Linked DNA regions of Homo sapiens: region 1 is linked to region 2. The links are contacts of gene promoters, found by promoter capture Hi-C in human tissues and cell types (Jung and others, 2019). All regions are on one chromosome and are shown on one strand. Each heading gives the region's core, a stretch centred on a gene start or on the middle of the fragment in contact. The rest is flanking DNA. Distances are from core to core; before and after follow the strand shown. Region 1 overlaps STAT2 (signal transducer and activator of transcription 2). Region 2 holds the start of PMEL (premelanosome protein).

Evidence for each region. The method cuts DNA at HindIII sites, captures the fragments that hold promoters and counts their contacts. A contact is called where the count stands out against the background at its distance.
Region 1: a contact is called between a fragment that was not itself captured here and the fragment with the promoter of PMEL in region 2, in 1 of the 25 tissues and cell types used here (hippocampus).

What each region holds. Positions count from the first base shown.
Region 1 is chr12:56,352,601-56,358,623 of GRCh38, reverse strand. It overlaps STAT2 (signal transducer and activator of transcription 2), which reads left to right. Exons shown (of 24, transcript NM_005419.4): 2 at 2,046-2,183; 3 at 2,339-2,492; 4 at 2,821-2,916; 5 at 3,092-3,181; 6 at 3,273-3,348; 7 at 3,761-3,846; 8 at 4,010-4,158. The coding sequence starts at 2,053. Among named protein-coding and RNA genes, the nearest start is that of STAT2, 4.5 kb to the left of the region's middle. The HindIII fragment of the contact is 6,015 bases long and covers 1-5,669 here.
Region 2 is chr12:55,962,091-55,968,450 of GRCh38, reverse strand. It overlaps PMEL (premelanosome protein), which reads left to right and starts at 2,409. Exons shown (of 11, transcript NM_001384361.1): 1 at 2,409-2,515. The coding sequence starts at 2,440. It overlaps CDK2 (cyclin dependent kinase 2), which reads right to left and starts at 1,621. Exons shown (of 7, transcript NM_001798.5): 1 at 1,327-1,621; 2 at 517-594; 3 at 282-402. The coding sequence starts at 1,442. RefSeq lists an enhancer at 1,851-1,930. The HindIII fragment of the contact is 17,930 bases long and covers 1-6,360 here.

The DNA of each region.
Region 1 (6,023 bases), core at 1,413-3,912, 390 kb before region 2:
CTTCCTATATGGAGGGCAGTTTATATGGTGTACTTACCTGACCACCAAAAAGATTTGGCTCCTAAAAAAGCTTCAGGTGGCCGGGCATGGTGGTTCACCCCTGTAATCCCAGCACTTTGGGAGGCCAAGGTGGGCAGATCACCTGAGGTCAGAAGTTCCAGACCAGCCTGGACAATATGGTGAAACCCCATCTCTACTAAAAATACAAAAATTAGCTGGGCATGGTAGTGGGCGCCTGTAATCCCAGCTAGTCGGGAGGCTGAGGCAGGAGAATCCCTTCAACTCGGGAGGCAGAGTTTGCAGTGAGCCGAGATCGTGTCACTGCACTCCAGCCTGGGTGACAGAGCAAGACTCCATCTCAAAAAAAGAAAAAAAAAAAAAGAAAAAAAAAAGCTTCAGAGCCAGCAGGGATCATGCTGTAATAAATACTTAACATCAACACTGATCTTTAAATGCTTTAGCACAATCAAATATAAATAACAAACACACACATAAATGCAAAATAAATGAATTAGGGAGATAGATGAAATAAGATTGTGGAAATAGTAATGTTTGTTAAAGCTGGATGGTGATCCTTGTACTATTCACTCTACTCTAGTGTGTATTTGAAAATTACCATTAGGCTGGTTATGGTGGCTCATGCCTGTTAATCCCGGCATTTTGGAAGGCTGAGGCAGGCGGATTACTTGAGCTCAGGAGTTTGAGATCTGCCTGGGCAACATGGCAAAATCCCATCTCTACAAAAAATTAGCTGGCATGATGGCACACTCCTGTAGTCCCAGCTCCTTGAGGGGCTGAGGCAGAGAATGGCTTGAACCTGAGAGGTCAAAGCTGCAGTGAGCCAAGATCATGCCACTGCACTCCAGCCTGGGTGACCAAGTGAGACCCTGTCTCAAAAAAAAAAAAAAAAAAAGAAAGAAAATTCCCATTAAAGCACAAAGGCCCACTTATTGAAGCTATTAAAATACAGGTTGGGGCCGGCTGGGCACAGCGGCTCACGCCTGTAATCCCAGCACTTTGGAAGGCCGAGGTAGGCAGATCACGAGTTCAGGAGATCGAGACCATCCTGGCTAACACGGTGAAACCCCATCTCTACTAAAAATACAAAAAAAAAAATCAGCCGGGCATGGTGGCGGGAGCCTATAGTCCCAGCTACTCGGGAGGCTGAGGCAGGAGAATGGCATGAGCCCGGGAGGCGGAGCTTGCAGTGAGCCAAAATCACACCACTGCACTCCAGCCTGGGCAACAGATCGAGACTCCATCTGAAGAAAAAAAAAATACAGGTTGGGACCACAGTGGCTCATGCCTGTAATCCTAGTACTTTGGGAGTCCGAAGTAGGTGGATCACCTGAGGTCAGGAGTTTGAGACCAGCCTGGCCAACATGGCAAAACCCCATCTCTACTAAAAAATATACAAAAATTAGCTGGGCGTGGTGGTGGGTGCCTGTAATCCCAGCTACTCAGGAGGCTGAGGCAGAAGAATCACTTGAACCAGGGGGATGGTGGTTGCAATGAGCCAAGATCATGCCACTTCACTCCGGCCCAGGCAAAAGAGTGAGAGTCCATCTTAAAAAAAAAAAAAAAAAAAAAAAAAAAATACAGATTAGGCATTCCTAATCTGAAAAATTTGGCTCCAAAATGCTCCAGTGAGCATTTCCTTTGAGTGTCATGTGGGTGCTCAAAAAGTTAGATTTTGGACCATTTCAGATTTCAGAGTTTTGGATTAGGGATGCTCGACTGGTAAGTAATGCAGATATTCCAAAATCTGGACAAATCTGAAATCCAAAATGCTTGGAATAGCAGATACTCAACTGGTAGCACTCCCTGGAAGAATATGCACCAAACTGATAGCAGTGGTTACTTCTGGAGAGGAGGGGAAAGAACCAAGATTAGCAGTAGGATCAACATATATTTTAATGTTTTCTGTATTTTTATTACTTGTATAATTTAAACATTTTAAATTAGTAATAATGAACAATCATGAAACTATGGATGATTTAGTCCAGCAAAATATCCAATTGGGAACCCTCATCCTTCTGACGCAGAGCCCAAATGGCGCAGTGGGAAATGCTGCAGAATCTTGACAGCCCCTTTCAGGATCAGCTGCACCAGCTTTACTCGCACAGCCTCCTGCCTGTGGACATTCGACAGTACTTGGCTGTCTGGATTGAAGACCAGAACTGGTGAGGCCTTCAGGAAGTTGGGGGAATGAAAAAGGTGGTTCCTTACTTCTGGGCCCCCGGGATCCTGGAATCATTAATGGCAGGAAGGGGTTGGAAAGCCTCAGGACTACAGTAACACTGCAGAGACACTAATACTTCTTATTCCTGGTGCCCAGGCAGGAAGCTGCACTTGGGAGTGATGATTCCAAGGCTACCATGCTATTCTTCCACTTCTTGGATCAGCTGAACTATGAGTGTGGCCGTTGCAGCCAGGACCCAGAGTCCTTGTTGCTGCAGCACAATTTGCGGAAATTCTGCCGGGACATTCAGGTACTTGGAACGGTTGGGAGTGATGGGGTAGCACTGGGAGCTGAGCATAGAGGAGTAAGGTTTGGAGAATAGAATAGTACCTGGAGGTGGAAAGGGAGACGGGAACAAATGTGGGGAAAGGAGGACAGAGTCTGGACTTGGGGAATCACTAGCAGAGAGAAGGGTTGCATATACGTGACACTGTTGGGAGGATGCTATGGTGAAAAGACAAAGGGCTAAGAACCCCGAAGGAGGAGGAAATACTGTGGACATTGGTGGGGAGGGTCTAGGGCAATAGGTCATTGAGAGTGGTTGAATTGGATCAATCCTTTCTGTTTACCTATTCTAGCCCTTTTCCCAGGATCCTACCCAGTTGGCTGAGATGATCTTTAACCTCCTTCTGGAAGAAAAAAGAATTTTGATCCAGGCTCAGAGGGCCCAATTGGTGAGGACAATTCAGTGGTAATGTTGGAAACTCCTGAAGTAGAGAGGAACCATGGAAAGGACTCAGGGAGTTGTCTCAGAACAGGATCCCCCCGACATCCTGTGGTATAATTTCAGGCCTGAACTTAAGGCATGAAAGGCCAGAGTTAAAACGTGCTCAGAGCCTCTTTTTTCAGGAACAAGGAGAGCCAGTTCTCGAAACACCTGTGGAGAGCCAGCAACATGAGATTGAATCCCGGATCCTGGATTTAAGGGCTATGATGGAGGTTAGTAGATGTGGTAGGAGTTAGGGTTGACAGCGTTCAGCCTAACACCTCCCTGAGAAGCAGCCTCATCGGGGTCCTCTCCCCTCTGCAGAAGCTGGTAAAATCCATCAGCCAACTGAAAGACCAGCAGGATGTCTTCTGCTTCCGATATAAGATCCAGGCCAAAGGTAGGAAGCACATTGAGGGGCTGGAGAAAGATAAGTGCCTGCTGAGAAGCCGGAGCTGGAAGTGAACAGGAGAAAGCTCCGATGAGCAGTAGTCACTGTCAGACACACCCCACTGACTACAGTCCTGCTGCCGTGCAAAGCTGGAAGTGCTTTGTGGAGGCTGAGCTGGAGGTGCAGCTGAGAGACAGTAAATGTTGAGGAAATGCATGGAAAACTAACAGTGTTTTATTTGAGGGGGTGTCTGGTCCAAGCATGACCATTCAGAATTTGCCTGAGGGTCCCACAGGTGCCTGTGCTTTGCTTGGTTTCCCTTTCTTCCTCCACAAAATTCCTCCTTCCTGACTCTGACTGAGACCCCAGTCAGGAAGGAGAGGAAAGAACCCCTGGACTGACTCCTGTTCCCACCATCCAGGGAAGACACCCTCTCTGGACCCCCATCAGACCAAAGAGCAGAAGATTCTGCAGGAAACTCTCAATGAACTGGACAAAAGGAGAAAGGTGGGAGACAGAGGACAGAACATGTGGGCAACAAGGACCTGGAAAAATGAGGGATGTGGGGACCCTGGTCCTCTAGCGCTGGCTTCTTTGTTTCTTCATCCCCAGTTGGGTGGTGGAGGGTGAAAGGGAGAGATGCTCAACACTCACATTATCTCTTTCCCAGGAGGTGCTGGATGCCTCCAAAGCACTGCTAGGCCGATTAACTACCCTAATCGAGCTACTGCTGCCAAAGTTGGAGGAGTGGAAGGCCCAGCAGCAAAAAGCCTGCATCAGAGCTCCCATTGACCACGGGTTGGAACAGCTGGAGACATGGTGAGAGGTACCACCCCAACCCTCGTCCTCGCCATGCGCTGTGATTTGTAAGTTGCAGTGCCCTGCATATAGCAAGAGATACTGTTCTCTATTTGTCTCTGCTCCCCAGAATGAGCCCTGCTCCCTGCTGACTGCAGCTCTATTCTGCTCCTCATCCTCACCACGCAGGGAGCCCAGAGCCCAGTCTCCTTCAGGGAAAGGAATGAATTAACCCACAATCTGGTTTTTCCTTCTTTTTTAATCACCCAGAAATATATATATATGTATTTTTTTTTTTACTGCAACGAATACAATGACAAGAAAGGAAGGAAGGAAGGAGGAAGAGAAAATTACCTATTACCTAGCTTATTAAACAAAAATGGAATCATATTGTCCATACTATTTTGAAATCCATGGGGTTTTTTTTAAGCTTAACAGTATTTTTTATATATATATATATATATATATATTTTTTTTTTTTTTTTTTTTTTGAGACGGAGTCTCTCTCTGTTGCCCAGGCTGGAGCGCAGTGGCACGATCTCAGCTCACTGCAACTTCCAACTCCCAGGTTCAAGCAATTCTCCTGTCTCAGCCTCCCGAGTTGCTGGGATTACAGGCACACACCACCATGCCTGGCTAGTTTTTTTGTATTTTTAGTAGAGACGATGTTTCTCCATGTTGGCCAGGCTGGTCTCAAACTCCTGACTTCAGGTGATCCACCCAACTTGGGCTCCCAAAGTGCTGGGATTACAGGCGTGAGCCACCATGCCCGGCCAACAGTATATTATATTTATCCATGTTATTTCTTATGTCCACACAACAGTCCCCTATATGGTGGTAACATAATTTAATTAATGAACTCCTATTTTCAGCTATTTAGGTTATTTTCAATTTCTTGTTACCTTTTTCCAGGAAACGCTATATTTTATGGTAATTATATTGTGTTGTAGAAAAATCACTAGTGTGTCCTCCAACATACTTGAAAAATACCTACTGTTTTCAATATTTTCTCATTTAAAAATTTATTATAATTTAGTCTTTTAGAAATATACCAGGCCAGGCATGGCGTCTCATGCCTGTTATCCTAGTACTTTGGAAGGCTGAGGCAGGAGGATCACTTCAGTCTTGGGGTTTGAGACCAGCCCGGGAAACATAACAAGACCCCATCTCTACAAAAAAAAAAAATTTGTTTTTTAATTAGGCATGTCCGGACACAGTGGCTCACACATGTGGCCAGCACTGTGGGAGGCCAAGGTGGGTGGATCACTTGAGGTCAGGAGTTCAAGACCAGCCTGGCCAATGTGGTGAAACCCCATCTCTACTAAAAATACAAAAATTTGCCAGGTGTGGTGGCGCATGCCTGTATTCCCAGCTACTCAGGAGGCTAAGGCAGGAAAATCACTTGAACTCGGGAGGCAGAGGTTGCAGTGAGCTGTGATCATGCCACTGTACTCCAGCCTGGGTGACAGAGCGAGACTCCGTCTCAAAAAAAAAAAAAAAAGATTAGGCATGGTGGCACACGCCTGTAGTCCCTAGCTACTCAGGAGGCTGAGGTGGGAGGATTGCTTGAGCCCAGGTGTTGGAGGCTGCAGTGAGCCATGATTATACCACTGTAGTCCAGCCTGGACAACAGAACGAGACCCTGTCTCTAAAAGTATATATGTACACATACCATAATACCCAGCTACTGAGGAGGCTGAGGCAGAAAGAGTGCTTGAGTCCAGGAGTTTGATGTCAGCCTGAGCAATATAGCAAGACCCTCACCTCTTAAAAAAAAAAAAAGTAGATTAAAAAAATACCACAATTGCTCAGGTAGATTGAAAAACAGGCATATAGTACTTATGGTACAGGACCAGCATGCATGCATGCATGCATTGATTGATTGA
Region 2 (6,360 bases), core at 1,160-3,659:
ATTTACCAAGTGCTCTCAAATCCCGTTTATCTGAGTTTCATCTGACCTCCCACCTGAGTTGCTAGGTTGACTCACTAGAGTTTCAACTTTGATTGTTCAGTCCAACCCTAGGGTTAATGAATATAATGAGCAGGGAAGGAGACACAAAAAGAAGGGGAGTGTGTGTGTATAGGAGATGAGGGCTCAGAAGGAGGCCAAAATCATAAAATATCACCCTGAATTGCCTGCCACCAGTCCCCCAAGACATGCCCATGATGAGAGGAGCTGATGAGAAGCATTACCTTGATGAGGGGAAGAGGAATGCCAGTGAGAGCAGAGGCATCCATGAATTTCTTGAGATCTTGGTGCAGAAATTCAAAAACCAGGTAGAGTTTATTTTCTGTGTGAATGACATCCAGCAGCCTAGAGAAGGAAAGTTTGAGGAAATGGAGGTGTGTGAGAGAGAGAAATGCCCACACTGTACAGACAGAACTTATCCTCCTTTCCAGCTGGATCACCTCTCAGACGCATACTTACTTGACAATATTAGGATGGTTAAGCTCCTTAAGCAGAGAGATCTCTCGGATGGCAGTACTGGGCACACCCTCAGTCTCACTTGGAGAGGTTGGGAAAGCAGAGATGGGAATATGGTTACAAATATTCCTTTCCCCCCCACCTAGTCATTTCTTTCCCCCAAGGAGACACCACCCAGCACCCCCTAGGAAAGTGAGAGAAGAGAAAGGGTGATGGTAAGAGCTAATTCTTGGGTAGTCAGGGTGTGGTTTTTGGATATATTAAGGCCATTATCTCCTCTTTTCCCAGGGGTAGGTAAGTAAAGCCGCCTGGTGAAGGTGAAGCAGGGAGACTGTAATGGAGGGGAAAAAATGCAGGAGTAGCCCCCAGCCTCCCCAGAGGGGCCAGTGAGGTTCAACTGCCATTCTTTGGAAAGAGGAGAGAATTCTAAGGTGAGGGTGGGGCAGTGAAGAGGGCTCTTCATTCAGAAAGGCGATTCTCGCCGGTTCCCACATAACTCCACTCCATGGAGAGTCTTGGACCTCATCTCAGAGACCTCCTTTCTCTCCCCGAGTCTGTAGTCGCACATTTGGGGGCACGATCCGGCTCAGTTTGGGAAGAAAGTTTTCCATGGATTCCACACCACCCTATACTCTCCCCAGGGAGTATAAGTATACTCTTCACCTTCTACTGGCCCCCAACCCACCTCTCCACTTCTAAAGAAGTCCCTCCCTGCTCTCTTCCGGTCCCTGGACGGCTACCCGCCCGTGGGGGGTTGGGGGGGACAATCAAGGAGGTCCCCAGTTAGGAGTCCCGGGTACAGAGGCCACTCACGTGTCCAGGCGGATTTTCTTAAGCGCCACCACCTCTCCCGTCAACTTGTTTCTGGCTTTGTACACAACTCCGTACGTGCCCTCTCCGATCTTTTCCACCTTTTGGAAGTTCTCCATGAAGCGCCAGCGAGTCGGGTCAGCCCGGCCCTGGAGCGGGGGCCTGGGAACCCTGCAGAAGGCGGACCCTGGCTCTCGGGGGCCGAGGAGGGGGAAACAGGGCCCAGTACCGTGGCCCCGGGTCGGGATGGAACGCAGTATACCTCTCGCTCTTGTCAATTTGGCCAACTTGAAACAATGTTGCCGCCTCCCACCGAGTTCCCGACCGCCACCAGAGGCCCCGCCCCTGCTTCCCGCGTTTCCCTGGCTCCGCCCCCAGGCCTTTCTATTGGTCAACGTCAGAGCCGGGGGGCGAGCCCAGCGCTCCTCCCCGCAAATGATCCCGCCCCAGGCAAGTTTGGTTCTTGGGGGCTAGACAAGTTTCTTCCCCGGTGGGGCGGCTGAACACTCTTCCCAAGTACCTGCTTTGGGTCCAAGTTTCCTACCTATGTCTCTAGTCTGTAGGGATTTCTTGATTTCTAACTCACTATTTTCACCAATCCTGGGGAAAATATGTATCGACCTAAGGTTAAATTCCACCTGGCCCAGGAGCCTCCTTTGGAAACCAGGAAGCCGGGAATCTCGTTGCAAAGGAATCCTGGGCCTCAGAGGAGTCGTTGCCTCTGCCTCATAGCATACCCCGACACTGTCTCTGTTTTGGGATGCAGGGTTCTGTTTCTGTCTTTTTGAGAAGTTCCTGGTTTAATTCACTCTCCCATGATAAACTGTTGTGTCTGGTATGTGTTACGCAGCTGCCTTTCAGTTAGCTCTTGCCCGGGAGTGCATCAAGATGAGAGTGACCCAGTGAAACCAGAAACTGTCATTGAGTAGCAGGATGGGAAAGCAATGTCTAGGGACCAGGATCCCTTTGTCAGTTTTTCCTTTTTCCTCTCCTCCGGCCCCTCCCAGGCCTTCTCTGAGGGAGAAGAGGAAGGGCTATGCAAATGAGCACCCTTTTCTTATATAGGGGCCTATCCCAGTCCCCCCAGTGCCTTTGGTTGCTGGAGGGAAGAACACAATGGATCTGGTGCTAAAAAGATGCCTTCTTCATTTGGCTGTGATAGGTGCTTTGCTGGCTGTGGGGGCTACAAAAGGTATGTGTGGATATGTGGACATGAGCAGGTGTGAACTTGGGGATGAATTCCCCCTGCTCTGGTTTCTGTCCTCCTAATGGGAGATAGCGGCAATATTTCAGGCGTCTCCCACTCATTTGATTTAGTGAGGATGTGGGCACCTGGGCTCCCTCCCTACATGGAGATTTGGGATTTTGCCTGAAAATAATCTCATATGCTTGGAGGGGCAGAAGGATAGAAGGTCTCTGTGGCACTGATTCTGAGGCTTCCTTGGCAGTGAGCTGGAGCACGGGCTCCAAAGGGGTGAAATGTGCAGGAGACTCTTTTAGGAAACGTCTCTTGGGGTAGGAGATTTAAAGTGGGGAGTCAGAGAATGTGGTATTGGGTAAGAACACTAAGGAGATACAATCCTCTCCTCTTGGGATGGGTACGGGTGAACACAGCCCAGACCTTTTGTTCTGGGGCTGGAGAGATAGGCAGAGGGGTCTCAGCTGAGCATCACATGAAAGGGCTCTGGGGGATTGGGCCTCGTGACAGGAGCAAGGGGCGGGGGTGGGGTGGTGAGAGGGTCTGGAATGTCCCGTGCTGCTCTGAGGAGAGTTGGAAGTGGAGAAAGAATGGGGTATCTTATGACTTCTCTTGTTCTAGTGGTGGGATGCTCAATAGATGATTCCAGATCCTCCCCCAGCAGAATCAACTAGGGTTACAGCACACATTAGAAAGGGAATGAGGCCGGGCGCCGTGGCTCACGCCTGTAATCCCAGCACTTTGGGAGGCTGAAGCAGGTGGATCACGAGGTCAGGAGTTCGAGACCAGCCTGGCCAATATGGTGAAACCCCCGTCTCTACTAAAAGTACAAAAATTAGCTGGGCATGGTGGCACATGCCTGTAGTCCCAGCTACTCAGAAGGCTGAGGCTGGAGAATCACTTGAACCCAGAAGGCAGAGGTTGCAGTGAGCCAAGATCACACCAATGCACTCCAGCCTGGGTGACAGAGCGAGTCTCCGTCTCAAAAAAAAAAAAAAAAAGAAAGGGGATGAGGCCCGGCACAGTAACTCATGCCTGTAATCCTAGCACTTTGAGAGGCTGAGACGGGTGGATCACTTGAGGTCAGACCAGCCTGGCCAATATGGTGAAACTCCATCTCTACTAAAAATACAAAAATTAGCTGGGCATGGTGGTACGCACCTGTAATCCCAACTACTTGGGAGGCCGAGGCATGAGAATCGCTTGAACCTGGGAGGCAGAGGTTGCAGTGAGCCGAGATCACACCATTGCATTCCAGCCTGGGCAACAGCAAGACTCTGTCTCAAAAAAATAAAAAAAGAAAAGAAAAGAAAAGAGATAAGGAGGCCGGGTGTAGTGGCTCACACCTGTAATCCCAGCACTTTGGGAGGCCGTGGTCATAGGATTGCTTGAGCCCAGGAGTTCAAGACCAGCCTGAGCAACATAGTGAGACCTTGTCTCTACGAAACGTAAAAAAATTAGCCAGGCCTAGGCCAGGCTTGGTGGCTCACGCCTGTAATCCCAGCACTTTGCGAGACCAAGGCAGGTGGATCAGCTGAAGTTGGGAGTTTGAGACCAGCCTGACCAACATAGAGAAACCCAGTCTCTACTAAAAATACAAAATTAGCTGGGCGTGGTGGTGCATGCCTGTAATCCCAGCCACTCAGGAGGCTGAGGCAGGAGAATCGCTTGAACCCGGGAGGCGGAGGTTGTAGTAAGCTGAGATCGTGCCATTGTACTCCAGCCTTCCAGCCTGGGCAACAAGAGCGAAACTCTGTCTCAAAAAAAAAAAAAAAAAAAATTAGCCAGGCTTGGTGGTGAGCACCTGTGGTCCTAGCCACTTGGGAGGCTAATGAGGAAGATGGCTTCAGCCTAGGAGTTTGAGGCTGCAGTGAGTGATGAACGTGCCACTGCACGCAGGGTGAGAGAGCAAAACCCTGTATCAAAAGGAAAGGAAAGGGGAAAGGGAAAGGAAAGGGAAGGAAGTTTCTGCAGGAAAGGGAAAAATGGGGTGAGGGTAGTTTTTGCTGTGCTGAACTATATACAGAAAGGAGAGGAGAGGGGAGGGAAGGGGAGGGGAGAGAGGTTTCTGCAGGAAAGGGAAAAATGGGGTGAGGGTAGTTTCTGCTGTGCTGAAATACATACATTATATCCCAGCCCTGCTTTCTCCCTAGATGTTTAGTGTCACAGATTTCTAGGAAGTTCTCCTTGATGTGACTTTCCTCGCTGTGCTGCAGTTTCAAGTCTTTTTCTTTTACTATATTCCTTAATGTATCCTGGAAAGAGTCTGTTCACACCCACCCACCTAAGGCTCTTAACAAAAAGACTGTACTTATATTTTGGATCCTGATTTTAAAAATCATAAGACATTTTTCCAGATATTCATGAAATTTTATATGGACTGAGTTTGATAATTTTGTCTAGCATGAAATGACATTGTGCTTATGCAAGAAAATACTCATACATTTTAAATTTGTAGGGTTAAAATAACACGATGTCTGGGATTTGCTTTTACATACTTTAGCCAAAACAAAAACAAAAACAACAACTAGTAAGGATAAACAAAGCAAATGTGGCAAGGTGTTGATAGTTGTTGGACCTGGGTGGGGCAGATGGAGGTCCAGCATATCCTTTTCTTCTCAGACCTCTCTTGGTCAGTTACAATAATTTTGTCTTCCCTGTCCCCATCCCCAATCTCTGCCAGCCTCTAATCCATCCTCCTCACTGCTTGCCATCGTGATCTTTCTAAAACACAAATTTGATCATGTTCAAAAGTAAATTTTTTTTTTTTTTTGAGACGGAGTCTTGCTCTGTAGCCCAGGCTGGAGTGCAGTGGTGTGATCTCGGCTCACTGCCACCTCCGCCTCCTGGGTTCAAGCAATTCTCCTGCCTCAGCCCCCTGAGTAGCTGGAACTACAGGTGCCCACTACCACGCCCGGCTAATTTTTGTATTTTTAGTAGAGACAGGGTTTCACTTGGCCAGGCTGGTCTCGAACTCCTGACCTTGTGATCCACCTGCCTCGGCCTCTCAAAGTGCTGGGATTACAGATGTGAGCCACCATGCCTGGCTAAAAGTAAATTTTATGGTATGTGAATTATGTCTTGATTTAAAACAAAACAGGCGAGGCGCAGTGGCTCACGCCTATAATCCCAGCACTTTGGGAGGCCGAAGCGGTTGGATCACTTGAGGTCAGGAGTTTGAGACAAACCTGGCCAACATGGAGAAACCATGAAACATGGCGAAACTAAAAATACAAAAATTAGTTGGGTGTGGTGGTGGGTGCCTGTAGTCCCAGCTACTTGGGAGGCTGAGGAACGAGAATTGCTTGAATCCAGGAAGCGGAGGCTATAGTGAGCCAAGATCACGCCACTGCATTCCAGCCTAGGGGGCAGAGCGAGACTCCATCTCAAAAAAAAAAAAAAAAAAAAAAAAAGAGTAATAATAAATAAATAAACAAATAAATAAGGGGTTTTTTGTGTTTTTTTTTTTTTTTTTTTTTTTGAGATGGAGTCTTACTCTATCGCCAGCTGGAGTACACTGGTGCAATCTCAGAATCTCAGCTCACTGCAACCTCTGCCTCCCGGGTTCAAGCAATTCTCCTGCCTCAGCCTCCCAAGTAGCTGGAACTACAGGTGCGCACCACCATGCCCGGCTAATTTTGTATTTTTAGTAGAGACAGGGTTTCCCCATGTTGGCCAGGATGGTCTCTATCTCTTGACCTCATGATCCACCCGCCTCAGCCTCCCAAAGTACTGGGATTACAGGTGTGAGCCACCACACCCGGCCAAATAAATGAGTTTTAAAAATGCACTTCAGCCGGGCGCAGTGGCTCACGCCTGTAATCCCAGCACTTTGGGAG